4 separate regions of the Homo sapiens genome follow, and all the other regions are linked to region 4. The links are contacts of gene promoters, found by promoter capture Hi-C in blood cells and fetal thymus (Javierre and others, 2016). All regions are on one chromosome and are shown on one strand. The core of a region is centred on a gene start or on the middle of the fragment in contact, and the rest is flanking DNA. Distances in the headings are between cores, read along the strand shown.

What was found. The method cuts DNA at HindIII sites, captures the fragments that hold promoters and counts their contacts. A CHiCAGO score of 5 or more calls a contact.
Region 1: a contact is called between a fragment that was not itself captured here and the fragment with the promoter of ESS2 in region 4, in 5 of 17 cell types (total B cells, megakaryocytes, activated CD4 T cells and 2 more). The highest score is 7.6, in total B cells.
Region 2: a contact is called between the fragment with the promoter of HIRA here and the fragment with the promoter of ESS2 in region 4, in 10 of 17 cell types (total B cells, megakaryocytes, naive CD4 T cells and 7 more). The highest score is 9.4, in total B cells.
Region 3: a contact is called between a fragment that was not itself captured here and the fragment with the promoter of ESS2 in region 4, in 1 of 17 cell types (total CD8 T cells). The highest score is 5.0, in total CD8 T cells.

What each region holds. Positions count from the first base shown.
Region 1 is chr22:19,452,693-19,457,820 of GRCh38, forward strand. UFD1 (ubiquitin recognition factor in ER associated degradation 1) reads right to left here. Exons shown (of 12, transcript NM_005659.7): 8 at 4,161-4,226; 9 at 3,895-3,942; 10 at 2,988-3,076; 11 at 2,057-2,138. Among named protein-coding and RNA genes, the nearest start is that of C22orf39, 7.5 kb to the left of the region's middle. The HindIII fragment of the contact is 5,929 bases long and covers 367-5,128 here.
Region 2 is chr22:19,429,248-19,434,068 of GRCh38, forward strand. HIRA (histone cell cycle regulator) reads right to left here and starts at 2,486. Exons shown (of 25, transcript NM_003325.4): 1 at 2,193-2,486. The coding sequence starts at 2,229. MRPL40 (mitochondrial ribosomal protein L40) reads left to right here and starts at 3,298. Exons shown (of 4, transcript NM_003776.4): 1 at 3,298-3,360; 2 at 4,018-4,101. The coding sequence starts at 3,308. RefSeq lists enhancers at 953-1,082, 1,323-1,392, 1,341-2,088 and silencers at 2,373-2,772, 3,063-3,372. The HindIII fragment of the contact is 6,181 bases long and covers 1-4,821 here.
Region 3 is chr22:19,406,894-19,411,903 of GRCh38, forward strand. HIRA (histone cell cycle regulator) reads right to left here. Exons shown (of 25, transcript NM_003325.4): 2 at 3,823-3,885; 3 at 1,590-1,700; 4 at 291-381. Among named protein-coding and RNA genes, the nearest start is that of HIRA, 22 kb to the right of the region's middle. The HindIII fragment of the contact is 732 bases long and covers 2,706-3,437 here.
Region 4 is chr22:19,141,757-19,146,499 of GRCh38, forward strand. It overlaps ESS2 (ess-2 spliceosome associated protein), which reads right to left and starts at 2,895. Exons shown (of 10, transcript NM_022719.3): 1 at 2,750-2,895; 2 at 970-1,138; 3 at 782-877. The coding sequence starts at 2,884. RefSeq lists an enhancer at 1,964-2,470. The HindIII fragment of the contact is 3,418 bases long and covers 1-3,290 here.

The DNA.
Region 1 (5,128 bases), core at 2,081-4,580, 310 kb after region 4:
TTTAAAATTTTCTGTAGAGACAGGGTCTCCCTATATTGCCCAGGCTGGTCTCAAACTCCTGGGCTCAGATGATCTTCCCGCATCAGCCTCCCAAAGTGTTGGGATTACAGGTGTGAGCCATGGCGCTTGGCTGATGATGTCCTTAATGCATGGTGATACCTCTGTTCTCTCTCTAGAAGCTTTAGGATCTTTCTTTGCCTCAAAGTGGGGCTATTTTCATTCATTTTGCTGGAACTCAGTGAGCCCTTCAAATCTGCAAAATTGTGCCCATCTTTGGGGAAACTATTTCCCTGATGATTTCTGCTCCTTTGGTTTCTGTGGCTGTTCTTCCCACAAATCCTCTATTATTTAGATGCTGGAATGGAAAGCTTTCTGACTGTGGCCTTCACTTCAGAGATAGTAGTCTAGAGACCTACTGGAGTCGAGCCTCCAGCCTTCTGGGATGGGGGAGGGAGGGTAATGCAGCTCTAACTGCTTAGTAACAGAATTCTGTCTTTAGTCCCTCATTTCTAGAGGTGCCTTTTGAGAATTCCACAATCTACACAGAACTGCTTCTAGGCTTTCTATGGTCTACTAAGGTACCTGGGGCTTCCAAAGCCTTGTAGTTGCCTCCTCTTCCACTGTCTTTCTTACCTCATGACCTTTAGCCACAGCCTTAGTGGGGCTGCAGGATGGAATAGAGCTAAATATGTCTTCAATCCCATCTTTAAACATATACTTCTTAAATACATATTTATGGTCAAACAGGCCTGCTGTGCCCACTGGCCTCCCCTGCCTTCTGTAAATTTGCAACAGTCAGGTCACAGTCAGCCTGGGGGACGTCCCATGCTAAGGTCTTAGGTCGGAGTCAGGCACTGGCTTTTAGTGAGAAAGGCAGCCTGTAGCTGGTGAAGCCTGGATGGTGCCTGAAGGAGGAGCTGGAGGGTGAGGTCTGACTGGCCACTATGTTTGCTCCTCTGAGCCTGAAAGGTCCCAATGCCCAATGCTGTTTCAACTTGAACATTGAGCCCAGAAGTGGTTGTGAGTAGGACCAGGTGTGCAAACTTCACAGTGGTCTCTGTCCCCAACCACCCCAAGTGCTAGAGAAAAGAGTTCAGTAATTGGGATGGCTCCCATGTAGCAGCTGGTCCTGAATGGGTGGCTCAGTACATCTGCCCTCTGCCCTGATCCTGGATCCTCAAGGGTCCAATCCTTTGAGAAAAGGAACCAGGAGAGCGATGGGTCTGAAGCGCTGGTGTTGTAGAAATCCTCATCACAAAGAGGTGACTGCGTTCCAGTTGCTGCCAGGCCTGGCCATATTCCCACAAAGTGCCCATGTCTACAGGATGCTCAGCCCTTGCCTTCCTCTGTCCCGCCACCACCCTGCTCAGCTAGAAGGTGCTGCCTATATTTGAAGTTCAAGGTCTCTGTTGGAAGACGAAGCCCACCCAGGGCACACAGTTCTGTGATAACAGAGCCTGGAGTCGGCTCTAGAGCAAGACAGAGCTCCTGACCCCCATGCTGCAAGTCTTCTGTTTCATACACCCTACACCAGCTCTACAGAAAAAAACAGGACACCAGGGAGCAGAGGGACCCTAGGAAAGGGAAAACATGACAGACACCCTCATGTGGTTTGGCTGCGTCCCCACCCAAATCTCATCTTGAATTACCACGTGTTGTGGGAGGGACCAGGTGGGAGGTAACTGAGTCGGTGGGAGGTAACTGAGTCATGAGGGCGGGTCTTTTCCGTGCTGTTATCATGATAGTGAATAAGTCTCATGAGATCTGATGGTTTTATAAGTAGGTGTTTCCCTGCACCAGCTTTTTCTCTGCCTGCTACCATCCATGTAAGATGTGACTTGCCCCCTGCCATGATTGTGAGGCCTCCCCAGCCATGTGAACTGTAAGTCCATTAAACCTCTTTCTTTTGTAAATTGCCCAGTCTCGGGTACATCTTTACCAGCAGCTTGGAAACAGACTAATGCACACCCCTACTCAGAATGCCAAGAACTTCAGTCATCACTAGCAAATAAATCTCCTCATTACCAACCAAGGAAATACAAGGAAATACACTCACCTCTTCAACCTTTTTGACAAGGGGACGTGAATTTCTGATGAAAGTTATCTTACCAAGTTTAAATTCATAATTGGGAATTCCTCTGTAAGAAGAGACAGAGACAGAGAAATGTTATTTCCAGGAAAAAAGGACTAAAATTCATTTTTGACAGTCAAGAGGAACGCAGAAAAGATGCTGCTGCACCCCACCTGGGCCCTTTGGTGCTTCCTGGCATCCTCCCAGGAGGGAAGCAGAAAGTAACTGACTTCTTGGTTTGGTATCAATATTGGGTATAGGGCCAGGGGCTTTAGGCTCTGTACCTGTCTATGGAGAGGGGTCATCTGAAGGATTGGGAAGCCCTCACTGTCACTGTCCTGAGCTTCACAGAACCCCCTGAGGTGGCTAGACTCTCACTCCAGTATTCTGATTTCACACACACAACAGACAACTGACACACCTCAGCCCTGCCCCTGCCATCATGGCCACCAGAGGAAGGGTCTGCTGTGGGTCCCCGGACCCAGCAACAGAAGCACATCTGAGGTAGCTCCTCAGGGAACTTTCAGGGGAACTGAGATAATGTGACCTGATTAATAATTCCAAGTCACAAAACAGGAAAATAGGCAGATCACCAAATAGGGACCAGAAAGGTTTTGAGTAAGAGACAGATCTAATCAGACTCGCATCTTAGGAAAGCCAGTGGGGGCAAGAAGAGGCTGAATTGGGGGTATGGAGAGGTATGGAGAGAGGCTGGACCACAGTGGTACTGGGGGTGGCACTGTGGAAGGAGGGGCATGTTGTGCTCCACCCCACCAAGGAGAGCAGCTAAGGGTTTTAGTCCCTTGGGAGACTACTGACCCAGGCTTTGTCTCCAGAACTGGGGTGAGGCTGCCCGACCCCAGCGGGCTGGCACAGATCCTCCTCCTGTCCTGGAGGAGAGCCAGGACAGACCTACCTTTTAATATCTCCAGGCTTGATTGGGGAGGGGCTGGGCTCTACCCCTTTCTTCTTTCCATCCAGTCTATTGCCAGATCCAGAGAAAGCCTAGACAGGAAGTAGGTGAGTCATATAATAAGCCCAAGTGTGAGGACGATATGTCCTTTGCTTGGAGATCACTGCAGGGATGTGAGCTGGGGGTGCTGTGCAGACCCCTTCAGGACTGAAGCCCTGACTCCTCAACTGCTGGGGTGCTGGCAGCTAAGAACTCTGCCCAGTTCCTCAGGGGGTGGCCATGAGCTGAAGACAGCCACTTGGCCAAGGGCAGCCAGCAGTCAGTGTTGGGTTAAAAGACCTGATCCCTGCCTCTGCAGGGCCACCCAGTTCAAGCTCTATGGGTGGGCTAAGGCTACTGTTGTGACTGCCCCATAGCTCAGCTTCCCATCATTCTGCCCTCTCTGCTGCTTCCTGGCACCTCCTGCCACCTCAGTGCCCACACATGAACCACCTCCACCTGTTTCCCATGGAGCCTTGCCAGTAGTTATGCTAAGGGTCATGTTTGCAACCTACATGGTACAGGCAAAGAAAAAAGGAAACATGATTTACAAGAGAGAGAAAGCAAATGTGGTAACTTTTGGTGAACCTAAGGGAACAGTATATGTCTACTGTACTATTTAAACTCTTCGGTAGGTTAGAAATTCTTAAAAATCTGGGCTGCCTTATGGGGCTGTTGGGAAGATTCCAGGAGAGAGTGGATACAAAAGGGTTTGGTAACTGAGCGAGTGGCAGATTTGCATATGCACAGGTACCCAGAGGCCTAACCCCTGCTGATGTCCATCGAGCATCATGGAGAACACCTTGAGTGAGTGCTCTAATTTCAAGGAGCAGAGGGCACAGCAATATAAGTCAAGTGGTCTGGTACTCACGCGGAAGCCCAGCTCTCCAGCATAGCCACTGTGGTCGGCTTCACCTTCCTGACAGGGAAAAAGAAAAACAGGTGAGCTCCTCAGCGGGGACACCCAGCTTCCCTCTCACCCCCACCCCCGGCTAGGATGTCCCCCGGAAGCATGGCTGGAAGGGACGCAGAGGATATGACTACACCAACACTAGCAGAGGCCACCCACGAGCCACTGCCAGGAACTCAAAAGCAGCATGCAGCAGGACAGCAAAGGACACTGAGGATAACACTTACTGTCGACTCCTCATGCTGGACTTGTCTTTCGGGTTCTTTGTAGCCCAGGGGAGCATCAAAGTCCACCTGTGTTTCCAGGATTTTAAAAGTAAAATATTGAGACATGACCACCCTTGGCTTCCTTTTTTGTTTTTAATTGAGACAACTGTAGATTCACATGCAGTTTTAAGAAATAATACAAAAGATGCCTTGTACACTTGCCCAGTTTTCCCAACGGTAGCATCTTACAAAATTACAGTAAAGTATTGCTGCCAGGATATCAACACTGGCACAACCCACTGCTCTTATTCAGATTTCCCCAGTTTTACATGTTTTTGTTCATGGGTATCTTTAGTTCTACACAATGTAATCACTGTGTGGGGCATGTATCCACCACAGTTGAGATGTAGAACAGTTTCACCACCACTAGGACTGCCCATGTTGTCTTTTTATAACCATACCCAGCTGTCTCCCAGCCCCCTCCACCAGTCCTAAGCCCTGGCAACCACTGGTCTGTCTTCCATTTCGAAAGTTCTGTCACTTTGAGGATGTTATATAACGAAGTAACTTTTTGGGATTGGCTTTTTTTGCTCAGCAGTATTCCCTAGTAATACAACCAGGATGCTGTGTGCATCAGCACTTCATTCCTACTCAGAAGGTTCAGTACGCTTCCTTAGCTCTTAAGCATATTCACTCCTCGGCCAGGCGCGGTGGCCCACACCTGTAATCTCAGCACTTTGGGAGGCCGAGGCGGGTGGATTACCTGAGGTCAGGAGTTTGAGACCAGCTTGGCCAACATGGTAAAACCCTGTCTCTACCAAAATACAAAACTAGCCGGGCCTGGTGGCACATGCCTGTAATCCCAGCTACTCGGGAGGCTGAGGCAGGAGAATCGCTTGAACCTGGGAGGTGGAGGTTGTAGTGAGCCAAGATCGCACCACTGCACTCCAGCCTGGGCAACAGGAGTGAAACTAAGTCTCAAAAAAAAA
Region 2 (4,821 bases), core at 1,236-3,735, 290 kb after region 4:
CTGTCTCAGCCTCCCGAGTAGTTGGGACTACAGGTGCGTACCACCACGCCCAGCTAATTTTTGTATTTTTAGTAGAGACGGGGTTTCACCATGTTGGCCAGGATGGTCTCGATCTCTTGACCTCGTGATCCACCTGCCTCAGCCTCCCAAAGTGCTGGGATTACAGGCATGTGCCACCGTGCCCAGCCTCTTTTTATTATTACTTATTATCTCAGATTTCTAAAGCACTTAACAGTTTGGGGAGCATTTTTATATCTACGCTCCCAACTGAGTATCACAAGCATACTATGAAGTGGTTAGAGTAGATATTATCATGCTCCATTCTAGGGCTGTAGAGAGGCCCTCAGCAATAAGGGCCACTGTTGTGCTTGCTCTGCCAGGCTGATGCACTTGGCTGCTGATCTGAGTGTAGTCTCTTATTCATTTGTACCTAGTTCGTCACTTAAGCATCTTGACTTACTTATGTTTACATAGCATAAAACTTTTGGCCTACAAAGGAGCTTATCAAAAAGGAACAAGTTATATGACAGTAGAAGAGAGGCTGGAGAAGGGTAGGCTATTCACAAAAACTGATTTAGGTAAAGCATTTTAAAATAAAAATTCTATCAGACCTTCACACAGTAAACTAGTTCATAATAACATTTTTCCTTTCCTAATCACAAGCATCATAATTCATAATTACAATATTTGTCCAGTTCTCCAGGGAAAGATCTGCACAGTACACATCAGGAAATGCTCTTGGAGATCAACAGGAGAAATGAAACTAAAACTCAAGGCTTCGGCTTTCATGCACAGTAAACCTAACTTCATCTTGATAAATTATGAAAACCTCAGCTTTCTTACCTGTTTTAGCCAATATTTATCACATACCCATCATGTGGAAGAGGTTGTTCAATGCAGTAGGGCATACAGAAGGGACTGAGGCAGTCCCTACCCTGGGGGCATATGGAAAGTACCCTCACACCTTCCATGCCAGGCAAAACACACAGACAGTGATACAGCACATCTACCGGGGTAACTCAGGATGAACAGTTTCAAAAGAAACACGTGAACCTAGTCCCTGAAAAATGGGAAAGATGTCACACAAGATGGAAGGAGAGAGAGGTGGCAGGAGGAGAACACACACATGATCAGTTCAGTTTAGTTGTGGTAGTAGAGAGCATCCTGGGACCAAATTCAAAACGAAAAAGCCACATGTTAAAATATCTATTCTCGCTCCTAAAGAAAACGGTAGCACCCTGTAGTCGCACTGCAAAGTAGAAATGAGGAACAAGACAGCATCAGGGTGACCCTTTGCCTGTCAACAGTCAGACAGGCCAGAATCAGGCCCTGGGCTGGAGGAGTCTCCCTGGGTTGATTTCTGTGCTACAGTGCTGTCAGCAGAGTGGGGTGGGGGAGGGGGAGGCGCGCTTTTTTCATCTACCCGGGGAGCAAACACCAACTCCTGCAGCAGTTCTGCCAACAAGGCAGAACTATGACGAAACTGATTACCACTAGCCTCTCTGTATCAGAGTCAAGATATGGGGTGGATGAGTCCGTTCCCCAAGGGTGTGCTTTGGAGCCACTGCCACAGAGCTAAGAAGCCCCTCTGCTAGAACACACCTGTGCCCTATCTGCCCAACCCTAGTTCACCCTGATGTCCCAGCTCAGCATTAATCGTGGATCCTTCGCGGGGGCCCGGGGCCCCCAAACCCTCCTATTTAGGGACCACAATTCCCCAACTGGGGGCACTGTCCCCAGATCCAGAGGGGCAGTAACAGTCCCTCTTGCAGATTTCGGATCTTCATCCTGCCACTGAAAGGCCACAAGGGGGATTTCATCCCGGTTTCACCTTCAGGACCGTCTGAGCACTTCTCGGGCGATGCAGACCAGTGGAAGGCACTGGCTGGCACCAAGGCCCGCTCCTGGGAGCCAGGCCGCGGCCCCTCCAAGGACCACAGGTGGGCAGCGGAAGACTCAGAGCAAGAGCCAGGGGCGAAGATGGCCCTCGCTGCGGTCAACCCGGAGCACGTGCTGGGGCTCACCAGCCTCTCCGCGCTGAGGACAAAGTCCGCTCCCGCCGGCTTCTTGGCTTGGGCACCGGGTACCGGGCGTCAGGGGCGAGACAGGCAGGACTTGCGCGCGCCCCGACTCGACTCCAGACCCCGACCCGACTCCGGGCTCGGCCTCCCGCGACCCCTGCGCGCACTCACCATTGTGGTTGACCCAGGTCGGCTTCAGGAGCTTCATTGTTCGGCCGCCGCCGCCGCCGGGCTGAGGCGAGCGCCGGGTCCCTCAGCGCGCCCGGGCCATGGAGCCACCGCCGCCGCTTCCTCCCGCGCCACCCGCCCTCCGGCCGCCGCCCGCCCCGCGCCCTCAGGGCCGCCGCGCCATCGCCGGCCCGCGCCCCCCTCCGCCGCCACAGCCGCCACCCGCGCTCGGCCGCCGCCGCCGCCACCACAGCCGCATCCCCTGCGCCGCTCCTCCTCAGGCGGCTCCCGGGCAACGCCGGAAGTCACGGCGCGCACCTGCCAAATCGCCCCGGCGGGAAACCGCTCCCCACGCGGACTGGGCCGCCCCGGCTCCTCCGCTGGCAGGGGCTTCGGGTCGGGCCCGGGCGCGGGCGCCCCAGAAAGGGCGGTTCGCCTGGACGGCGGACAGCGAGCGGGGCCTGCAGTTGCAACCCGGGCCGCCCGCAGAGGCAGGCGGGGCCCAGGTGGCGTGGACCGCCCGTCACCAGCTCTGCCTCGCCAGTCTGAGTCCGACTTATTAACTAGCTTCCGTCATTCATCAACACGCGCTATTGGGCATCTTGCGAGCGCCGGGCTCCGCGCCGGCGCCGGAATGCGATCCGGGCTTCGGACTCGAACGAATGCGGGGGACGAGCCAACCCTGGTGGGGGAGGCTGGGGCGGACGCGTTTATTAGAAGATCGGGGCCGTTTGCCTAGACATGAACATTTGGACTCGGAGGAGCAGAGGGACGCCCCCTCGGCCGCTCCGGCTGCACTGCGGAGCCGAGGCCCGCGCGAGGGCGCAGACCGACCAACCGGCTAGGGCCTGACTGGCTAGACTGTGCCCGCTGCAGAGGCGCGCTCCCAGCACAGGGCGGGGACGGAAGGGAGGACCCCGAGCCGCGTGAAACGCAAGGCCCTCGTGTGTGCGCAGCTGACACCCTAGGCGGGGCTGCGTCGGGGGCGGGGACAGGCGCGTCCCAGCCCACGCAGCCGGAACGCCTGAGCGCTGGGCGCCTGGTCTGCCGGACCTCAGCAGGGGGCACCGCGGGCCGGACTGTGGAGGGGCGCACGCCCGGAAGCGGCGAGGGTAGCCATGACGGCCTCCGTGCTGCGAAGTATCTCGCTAGCCCTGCGCCCGACTAGCGGGTGAGTGCGGACGCTGGCCGGATAGCGGAGTGCCCAGGGCGCGTGCGGGGTCTTCGCGACTGTCCGCCAGGACTCGCCTGTGCTCCCTGCTCGCCTCCCAGTCCACGAATATCTCAGGGATGAGCCATCTGGTCGTGACTCTTATGCATGAAAATCTGAGCACCCTGGCGAGCAGCGGTCCTGCTTAAGTCCTCTGTGGTCTGAACGAAAGATTTTGAAAAACCTTCCACGTTGACCTTGCTGTCATATCAAGTAGTTAGAAGTGCCCCGGGTTTGGGAGCATTGCAATTTTTTATTTTCCTGTGAAGTGGGAGAGAATCAGATATTTATTTATTTATTTGAGACAGAGTCTCGCTCTGTCGCCCAGGCTGGAGTGCAGTGGCGCGATTTCGGCTCACTGCAACCTCTGCCTCCCGGGTTCAAGCAGTTCTGCCCCGGCCTCCCGAGTAGCTCGGATTACAGGCGCCCAACACCACGCCCGGCTAATTTTTGTATTTTTAGTAGAGACGGGGTTTCACCATGTTGGCCAGGCTGGTCTTGAACTCCTGACCTCGCGATCCACCCGCCTCGGCCTCCCAAAGTGCTGGGATTACAGACGTGAGCAACCGCGCCTAGCCTGGAGAAGCAGATATTTATACATACTCTTGTATCTTTCAGGCTTCTGGGAACTTGGCAGACGCAGCTTAGAGAGACTCACCAGCGAGCGTCATTGTTGTCTTTCTGGGAACTCATTCCCATGAGGTAAAACTCAATCGAGGGCCTGACCTCTGGGGGTAAAGGTGTCAGTCTATGTGTAGAGAACAAAGCAAGAATGCTGGATGTGTGGTTTGCAAAATTAACAGCCTACAAAGTTTCTCAGTTAAATTTAGGCCGATGCTTTTCTGTTTTTCCAACATTTTCCAAACCATAGATTGTTGTTTGTAATTTTTAAAATTTGAGCAGTTTCTCAAGAAGTAAGTATTCTCCTTGAAGGGATTCTTGTGTGTTTTAAAGGACACAGCTTAAGTTTCTGTTTCTCCATGACCCTTCCTCTTCCCTGCCCATTCGGAGGCCCTGGAGAGTGTGGGGAAGATGCAAGTATTAAAGGTATTTCCATCTGGCACTCTCGACTCTTTGTAGATACTTGATTCAGTCAATCTTGATAGTAAAGGATTTGATTTTTCTTTTTTTTTTGAGATGGAGTCTCACTGTGTCACCCAGGCTGGAGTGCAGTGGTGTGACCTCGGATCACTGCAACCTTCGCCTCCTGGGTTAAACTAATTCTCCTGCCTCAGCCTCCCAAGTAGCTGGGATTACAGGCGCCCACTACCACGCCCGGCTAATTTTTGTGTTTTTAGTAGAGACGGGGTTTCACCATGTTGGATGTTGGTCAGGCTGGTCTCGAACTCCTGATCTCAGGTGATCCACCCACCTCAGCACCCAAAGTGCTGGGATTACAGGCCTGAGCCACCGCACCCAGTC
Region 3 (5,010 bases), core at 1,822-4,321, 270 kb after region 4:
GAAATTTCACTTGAAAAAACAAAAGCAACGAAGCCCCACCCACATCGGCACTAGAAGAGATCAGACTTTCCTTTTCAGGTGAGAGCCTGCAGTCCTGTGAGGGGGCAGCTGACCAGGTCTCCTGAATTCCTGGTCAGGCTCCACCTGCTCCTGACCTACATGCACTTTCCACTACTTATGAGGTCAGGGCTATGGGAACTTCAGTGACAGGGTAGGGAAAGGTGACTTTGATAAAGACCAGCAAAGCAGCTTCTAAAAATAAAATGTGAAGAAAGGAAAATGATGCTTACGTAGCCCGCTTCCACACCATAATCAGTTTGTCATCTCCCCCAGAAGCTAAATACATCCCACTGTTTGACCACCGCACACAGTTCACACATGCTGGGAAGAAAAAAAAATAAGGTGATGAAAATCCAGTAGTCATGCCCATTTGCTTTATGTAGAGTTTGGCAAGATGTAAAGGGTTTATAAAATCTAATCTATCTAATCTATTTAAGGCATCTACTGTGTGAGAGCCCCAGAAAAACAATTCAGTTTAAGCACTAACCTACTTGTGCTATAAAAACAAATTACCAGAACAGTCTGGAGGGGGAAAAATATACATTATCTGAGAATCGTTAGTGCTGAATGACATAGTCAATAGAAGGCTTCTTTCTAAGAAAATCAAAAAATGATAACCAAATCTCATTATTTCAAAAGGGTCATCTATTAATGAGACACATTTCTGAGTAGAGATTATTCTCAAAAAAAGAGTACGTGCTAAAAAGGGTCAGATGCTTTTTCTAGATTTTTCAGATGAACAGTCTGTTACAGTATAAAACTCTGACTTCATCTCATCTGTCAGAGCCAGCCCTGTCACATTCGGATTTTCCAAACTCGCCAGCACTGCAGATTGACTGACTCTGCGCTTATAAGCTAAGATCAGCAGAAATTCCCCCAGGCCCCTGATGGGCCAGAGCCTCCAAGAGCACTCACAACTTGGCCTTTGGAAGACCTGAAAGATGGCTATCAAAGTTGTAGCCCCCACATGGCCCGTGAGTAACATGCTCCAGGTCTGAAGACACTGAGAGGCATGTTGAGAGGACAAGAACACACAGAGGAAAGGAAGGAGCTGATGTCCAAAGGCCAGTGACTGTTCATTAAGCATCTCAGGGGTGGGAAACTAAGGCACTACAGCAGGAAAGGAAACCATCACACTGTCTGATGGCCAAAAGGGTCCTGGCAGAGAGCCTCAGAGTGACACAGTAACAACCTGAGATGTTTTGGCAAATTGTCTCTTGCGCACCCTTCCCCAGAACCCTACTGTGTCCAGGTCGCTGGCCCCAAAGCCCCATGGAATCAGGCAGTAACGACTCATGAGCAGGAAATCACCAGAGGTACCTGCAGACTGTCCAAAGATGGTTCTGTGGGCGGGCCGAGTCTTCTGCTGAATAACTCACCCAGGTGTGCAGCCAACATCTGTGCCTTCAGACAGCAGGCCGAGGGGAGTTACCGCCGCACGGGGCCTTATCTTTCTAATTACAAACACATGTGCTAACCTTGGGCACTCTGCCAACACGCAAAGCCTGCAAAGGGCCACTCTGTAATACCTAAGTGATTGTCCATCTGGCAAAGCATCTTGGGAATATTTTCATCCTTCTCGTCATCCTCCTGGAGGACTGGAGACATATTCCAGATCACAACCTTCCCAGAATCCTGCCCTGGAACAAAGGAGCAGAAATGGCTGAATGTGCAAGGAGTAGAAATTTGATATTAATATTTAATGTCAAATTAAATTAGGAGAAGTCCTCACTTAGCTTCCATAAACAATAATTAACTAGATCTAAGGAGACTGAATTTAAATTACTAATTTAAGTTACAGAAAAGATGATAAGTACTCATGGGGACGAAACGGAGCGGACTTAGCAGTCAGCAGAAGTCAACCTGACTTTACAAAAAGAACTTTAGACTAGCAATCAGGAGGGAACTGAGCTCTGATCTGGCCTCTAACACGGATCCACCAGGGGTCCCTAAAAGGTCTTCATCCCTGCCCAGCACCTAGACTCCGACTCCTTGACTCCTCATCTGTGAAATGAGGAGAAGGGAAAGTCAATGTCATAAGACCTTTTCTGTTCTGTGTACACCCTAAAAAGCAAACAGAAAAGCACACCCTAGTGGGGTTTCCCTCCCCTTCCAGGTGCTGCCTGGAATTTAGGCTGTTCCAGAGCCGACTGTTTTGAGACCCAAATGTACCCTGAACACAGGAAAAATGGCTCATTATCTTGTTATCCACCCTTTGCAGTTACCTACAGACGAGAGACCACCAAAAGAGGGGATTTAGGGCTCCCGTGGTCATGAGTTGATGTATTGCTCGGCTAAAAAATATACCCATGCCTTTTAGTAATGATTTCTTTTCTTTTTTTTTTTTTGAGATGGAGTCTCACTCTGTCTCCCAGGCTGGAGTGCAGTGGCACGATCTCGGCTCACTGCAACCTCCGCCTCGCAGGTTCCAGCGATTCTCCTATCTCAGCCTCCCGACTAGCTGGGATTACAGGCGAACACCATGACACCTAGCTAATTTTTGTATTTTTAGTAGAGACGGGGTTTCGCCATGTTGGCCAGGCTGATTCGAACTCCTGACCTCAGATGATTCGCCTGCCTTGGCCTCCCAAAGTGCTGAAATCACAGGCGTGAGCCACCGTGCCCAGCCTTAGTAATGATTTCTAAGCTTTCCATCACTGATATCTAACGAAGTTTAGCCCCTCACTTAATTTTCCTATTATAATAGGGCCAAATCCAATGAACATGCCAAAATTACCATAAAGCATGTTTGAAACTGCCTCTTGGCCAATATGTAAAAGTATTTCCAAAACATCTCTGCTGGACCAAGGTGGCAAAATGTGTGTCTTCTGGGTACAGGTGCGAACCCTCTGATTCCTTCAGCTAAGTCCATGTGTTCTCTCTCATGTGCTGCACCTCCTCCTCTCGGGTGCAGTCCACAGCATGGAAGGAGAGAAAGGCTTCCCTGCCCACAGCTTCCCTACACTCCCTTCCAGCTCCTTGATTCTGGGTGGAAGCATCTGCTGGAAACCCACCCTGCAGCACCTGGCCTGAGGACCTAGAGCTCACAAAGGCACTCTCTAAGTGCTGCCTGGGGAGGCCTGGTTGGAGGGAGGCCCCGCTCTGGGGTAAAGATGACAGAGGGCTGGGCTCTGTGGAATGCTACATTGTGTCACTATATATACATCTTGGTATTGTGGCATGAAGAACAGCTCTGTCTTTCCAAATAGAACCATGCAACATTGCAAAAGATGCTGGCTGAAGCATAAGGGCAATACTACCAATAACAGTTTCAAATGGTGTGGGCTTTCTTACTTGCCCACAGTGTGCTTTCTCTTTAACCTAACTGAATTCCTTTGACGAGAAAATGGGCCTAATAACTACACGATTGCTTTAGAAGCTTAAATTACCCTCATTCCCTTTTTTCAGATGAGAAAAATGCTGACAGAGCCCTTGTCTCTGGGGCTGGGCTTTGCCCACTGGACCACCTACCGCTCTCGATGCTCTACAAGTTTGGGGATACAAACTGATTTTAATATTAACTCAATAAACAGAAATTAGAATGATACATCCGCTGCCAAAATACTTACAGAGAGCACACTAAAGCCATAAAAGGATTTTGATTTTATTCATTCAGATAACACATTATAACTGTACATTTTAAACAGCGTTGCATCCATCCTGAAAAATAGCAAGTATTCCCTCTACAGCTAAATGGACAGCAGGAGAAGAGCAAGGTGGCAGGGCTGTTAAGCTTTCCCTTTCTTTATTCCATAAACATACCTTGTCCTCCAGTTGCGAACTTGGTCCCGTCAGGGTGAATATCAACTGAAAAAATCGGCTTGCCTGGAAACAAAGAAAAAAAAATACAGTATCTAAATTGGCTTTTATTCATTGAAGTGTATCAAACTCAACAGATTCAGTTAAAGTCTAAACTGCTAGAAGATTCTCCAAACATCAGACAACTGAAAGTCCAACAGTGGGAGAAAGCATTCCATCACTGAGAATGGCTGAGCCCATAGGATGCCTGGGCATTTGTCTGCCATCTTGTAGGGATGTGTGTTTGTAATGGCTATGAGCTGTTCATGATTGAAGTTCTGAGTCTCAGGTACTTAGTGAAAAGGGCACACAGCTGTAACTCCAGACATCTCCCTATTGCATGGATCTGCACTTGACTGGCAGCCTAGACAGAAGGACTGCTATTTGTCTTTTCTGGCTGACAGCTGAGCAGGACCAGCGCTGGCTGCAACCAAGGAGCATTGCTTCGCTTGTCATACTTCTGCTTCCAAACAGCCCTCTTTTGTTTGTGCTGTGAAGTTCCCATACCGTCTGCCATCTCAGCATCTCCTCTGGCTGAACCTCCTTCACAGTTTGTACTCTATGTTAAATTAGCTGTTCAATTCCTCCAGGAGAAAGGACTGTGGCTATTAGTTCTTAGAAGCCCCAAAGAGCCCAGTATGGGCCTAGGCTTGCACTAGGATCCCATGAAGCTAGCTGGCTGGCTGGGTGGGTGGATCAGACCGGCAAAAGCACTGTAGGAGCTTGAAACCCAGCAGACCATAGAAGGCACTCACGCCTGGTGGGCATTTGTCCAGCTCCCTGCTTCTAGGACAAAGGTTTAAGAGCTACAAGTGGCATGTCAGTTGCTGTTGAGTTCATCACATCTTCAGCCTCTAGCACAGTACCCAGTGTACAGTAGCGCAGTAATATTTGTTCATTGACAAAGGAGATACATGACAATGATCTGAGCATCAACAATTGCTGATATAGATGGGCTGTTGCCAAGAGTCTCTTAATTGAACATGTTCTGTCTCTGTCACCCAAGAGGAGGCAATGTGGACACAGTACCAGAGTCACCAGCCCTAGAATCACTCAGCAAGTACTGGGATCAGGAGTGTGTGGGCAGGCAGTGGCTGTCTGAGAACTGTGAAGTCCTGCCAGGGCTCCCATGCAAGTGTGAAAATTAAATGC
Region 4 (4,743 bases), core at 1,645-4,144:
GCAGACAGATCACCTGAGGTCAGGAGTTCAAGACTAGCCGGGACAACATGGCAAAACCTCGTCTCTACTACAAAATACAAAAATTAGCCAGGAGTGGTGGCAGGCGCCTGTAATCCCAGCTATTTGGGAGGCTAAGGCAGGGAGAATTGCTTGAACCTGGGAGGTGGAGGTTGCAGTGAGCCGGGATCACACCATTTTACTCCAGCCTGGGTGACAGAGCGAGACTCTGTGTCAAAAAATTAAAAATAAAATGAAATTAAATAAAATAAAATGTCTTGTGATGAAAAACCAAAGCCAGGCTGGAAGCCACAGAGCACCAGTGGTGTTGTGACTTCACACTGGCAGGTCAAGAAAAGTTTCTCTGAACAGGTAACACCTATGCAGAGATCTACAGGAAGAAACACAGTGAGCCATGCAGTTATCTGGGAAGTGACCAACATGAAGGAAACAAATGGAGAGGCCCTGAGGCATCTTCAGGATAGTAACAAAAGGGGCCTTCCAACATCCATGAAGCCCACAGGGCAGGGCTGGAACACAGCAGAAAAGCCAGCAAGAGCTGGTGAGAGTCCCATTTCACAGAGGCGAGCCATGTGTGGGAGCTGGACCCAGATGTTCTACCACCTAGACCAATGTCCTTTGACTTCACAGGCTGCTATTTACGCAAGACCCCTCAGGAACAAGATGTGGCCTGCAGCCCTCTGGACCACCCCCTCAGGGCCTCACAGGCTAAGATTCCCAGGCAATCCTGACCATGTGACTTAAAGAGGGCACCCTCACTCACCATCCTCCAGGCCTCGGCCGCGGGGCCTGGGCTTGTTGCCCACCACTCCAGTGCCTGCATGCACCTCAGGGGTTTCAAATGTGGCTGGAGTCACATCTAGGGGAAGAGAGGGGGATAAGAATTAGAGTGAGCCTGAAGCGACAGTTCAGCAGGCTTTCCCCTCTCCGCCACCCACAGGGTCCTCATACAGGGTGGCGGGGGCTCCCGGGACATCTTGCCCAAGGCAGAGCCAAACTTGATGGCAATCTGGCGCATCCGTTCCAAGTCTCCATTCTCCTCGGCTTCCAGGTACTCCTTCTGTGCCTGGAGCTTCTCCACATCAGGAAAGAAATCCCTTTGGATGACCGTCTGGAGGCCCTGCAAGGAGAGATCAGAATGAAAGTCAGAGGCCAGGCGCGGTGGCTCACACCTGTAATCCCAACACTTTGGGAGGCCAAGGGAGGTGGATCATGAGGTCAGAAGTTCAAGACCAGCCTGGCCAACATGGTGAAACCCAGTCTCTACTAGAAATACAAAAATTAGCCGGGCGTGGTGGCAGGCACCTGTAATTCCAGCTACGTGGGAGGCTGAAGCAGAAGAATCGCTTAAACTCGGGAGGCGGAGGTTGCAGTGAGCCAAGATCACACCCCTGCACTCCAGCCTGGGCGACAGAGCGAGACCGTCTCAAAAAAAAAAAAAAAAAAGAAAAAAGAAAGTCGGAGCTGCAGTCTGGGTGCTCCTGCCTCACAGGTCCACTGCTGTACATGCTAAGGAACTTGCTGAACCTCCTTCAAATTCTACTTCCCCAATGACTGGGGCTGGATTGAGGGAGCTTGAGGGCACTTTCTAGTGGGGTTGAGCATCCCATATGGTAGCCATGCTGCAACCTCTAACATTACTAAACACTCTTCTGAAGTCCGTGAAACCCTTCTCTCTCGCCCTTGCTAACTGGTCATTCTCATTCTCCATTGCTGGCTCCCCACAAGCCAGACCAATGTGGGTGTTGTCACTTTCATTCCACACATGACTTTCTATTTCCAATCTAAACCTTTCTCCTGGCGGGGCATGGTAGCTCACGCCTGTAATCCCAGCACTTTGAGAGGCCAAGGCGGGCGGATCACCTGAGGTCAGGAGTTCGAGACCAGCCTGGCCAACATGGTGAAACCCCACCACTACTAAAAATACAAAAATTAGCCGGGCGTGGTGGCGGGCACCTGTAGTCACAGCTACTCGGCAGGCTGAGGCAGGAGAATGGCTTGAACCCAGGAGGCAGAGGTTGGTTACAGTAAGCCGAGATCGCGCCACTGCACTCCAGCCTGGACGACGAGCGAGACTCCGTCTCAAAAAATAAAATAAAAATAAACCTTTTTCCTGAGTAACTTCAGCCAGTCACTACCACAAGTTGAGATTCCCAAGTCTGCACCTCCAGCCAGACCTTGCTCCCGAGCTGCATATCTGGGCACCCAACCGTCCGTTAAAGCCATCCATCTACATATCCCAAAAGGTGTCCCGAATTAAACAGGTCTAAAACCAAACTGACTTCCGCCAATCCCCGTTTCAGCTCCTCCTTCTGTGTGCGTGTGGTGGGGCGACGCAGGTCCACTCACTCGAGATGCTGTCACAACTGCGGTCTCTTTCCAGGAACCCCAGCATTCACACTTGCTGCCACCGCTCTTTAGAAAGCCCTCTTTGCCACCATCCTTCCAGTTTGTCAAACTCCTACTCACACTTTAACAGAAAATCTTCTTTCCCTGACCCCCGTCCCATACAAAGAGAGCCGCTCTCTCTTTTCCCTGACAACACTACTACAGCCTCTTCCACCACAGACGTCTTCCTCTGCCCTGTTTACTTGACTCGTGGGACCGTCCACACCCGGCTCCTCCACTTCCACGAGGAGACGGAGTGTCAACACCCGAGAGAGGGAACCTGAGAGGAGCTTGAAGCAGAGGATGGGCCCAGAAGTCGCCGGCGTCCGCACCGAGGTCGTACCTCGATATACTCTTCCTCGTCCAGGACCCGCTGCTTGCTCGTCGCAGCCCCAGCCTCTCCCGCCTCGCGCTTCCTCGGGGGCCTGGACGCGGCGGGAAGCAACAAGGACGACGCTGATGCGCCCGGCGTCTCCATCGCTATCCCAGGAAAAAGCTCGGGCCCAGCAGGCGCGTCACAGGGTGGAGGGGGCGGGACTGCACCATTTGCGCAGGCGCCTCCAATAGTTGGCCAATGGAAAAGCTGTGGCTCTAGAAAGCCAGCCCGCGCTCCGTTCTGACGTCACTATAAATGCTAGACTTTATTGGAAATGTAGTCCTTGTCCTGCCCCGCGCTATTCATGCTTGTCAATGCTGTGAACACGAGGGGGTGCTGTGGAGGTGGCGGGGAGGATGCTATAGGGCGTGTTCTTCACGCGAGAAATTCTGGCTTTGCAGCGTCCAAAGGCCTTAGAATTCTAATTTCCCACAAATAAGAACTATGTATGCTTCGAGATTATTCTACAAAAATACAAACCAGGAAATTTACTTATATAGGAGTTTCAAGCTTTATGCAAGAAAAGGGCCTTAAAACAATTTTTTTTTTGAGACGGAGTTTCGGTCTTGTTGCCCAGGCTGGAGTGCAATGGCATGATCTCGGCTCACCGGAGTTCCCGGGTTCAAGGGATTCTCCTGCCTCAGCCTCCCGAGTAGCTGGGATTACAGGCATGGGCCACCACGCCCGGCTAATTTTGCATTTTTAGTAGAGACAGGGTTTCTCTATGTTGGTCAGGCTGGTCTCTGGATTACAGGCGTGAGCCACCGCACCCGGCCAAAACAATCTTTTTTTTTTTTTTATAGTTATCTAACAAAAGGTGAAAGAACAAGACAGTGGTTCGATTAAGAAATGTCTAAAGATTATTCTGTAATCCCAGAACTTTGAGAGGCCAAGACAGGCGGATCACCTGAGGTCAGGAGTTCTAGACCAGCCTGGCCAACAAGATGAAACCCCATCTCTACTAAAAACACACAAAAAAATTAGCTGGGCATGGTGGTGGACGCCTGTAATCCCAGCTACTCGGAAGGCTGAGGCTGGAGAATTGCTTGAACCCAGGAGGCGGAGGTTGCAGTGAGCTGAGATTGCACCATTGCACTCCAGCCTGGGTAACAAGAGCAAAACTCTGTCAAAAAAAAAAAAAAGATTATTGGGCCCCCAAATGCCAGAGTGGGCTTCCCAGAAGAGGGATCATTCTCATTCAAGACCAGGCACGGTGGCTCACGCCTGTAACCTCAGCACTTTGGGAGACCCAGGCAGGTGGATCACTTGAAGTCAGGAGATTGAGACCAGCCTGGCCAACATGGTGAAACCCCAACTCTACTAAAAAAAAAAAAAAATACAAAGTGGTGGTAGGTGCCTGTAGTCCCAGCTACTTGGGAGGCTGAGGCAGGAAAATCACTCAAACCCAGGAGGTGGAAACTGCAGTGAGCAGAGATTGTGCCACTGCACTACAGCCTGGGTGACAGAGTGAAACTCTGTCAAGAAAAAAAAAAATTAATATTCAAGTGAACCAGAAAATTGCCTCGGCATTTTTAAGGAATTTCTTCCCAAACGAAAGATGTGAATTGTGTTGGACAAATAAATTCCGCCCTGGAACAATTTAATACAATTTTGCTTTTGCAACATACAGGGATACCTTCATTCACTGAAGTGCAGCGTGCTGCTGCTGCCCTTGTAGAAGTGACAGTGCAATGGGGAAGACAGAGACACTTGTTAGATCATCACACAAACAGGTGTAAAATTGCAGCTGTGTCCGTGCAAGAAAAGAGTTTGTACTTGGGGAATCTTGACCTAGTTCGGGAGGTCAGAGAAGCTTCCCCAGGCAGAAAGTGATTGCAGATTCAAAAGACGAACAAACCGGCAACAGTCAGGTGGAAAGAGCATGTGCAAAGGCCTAGTGGTGGGAGGGAGCAAGGCAAGTTCTAAAGAAGTCCTTTGGAAATGCAGAGTGCAGTGAGGTG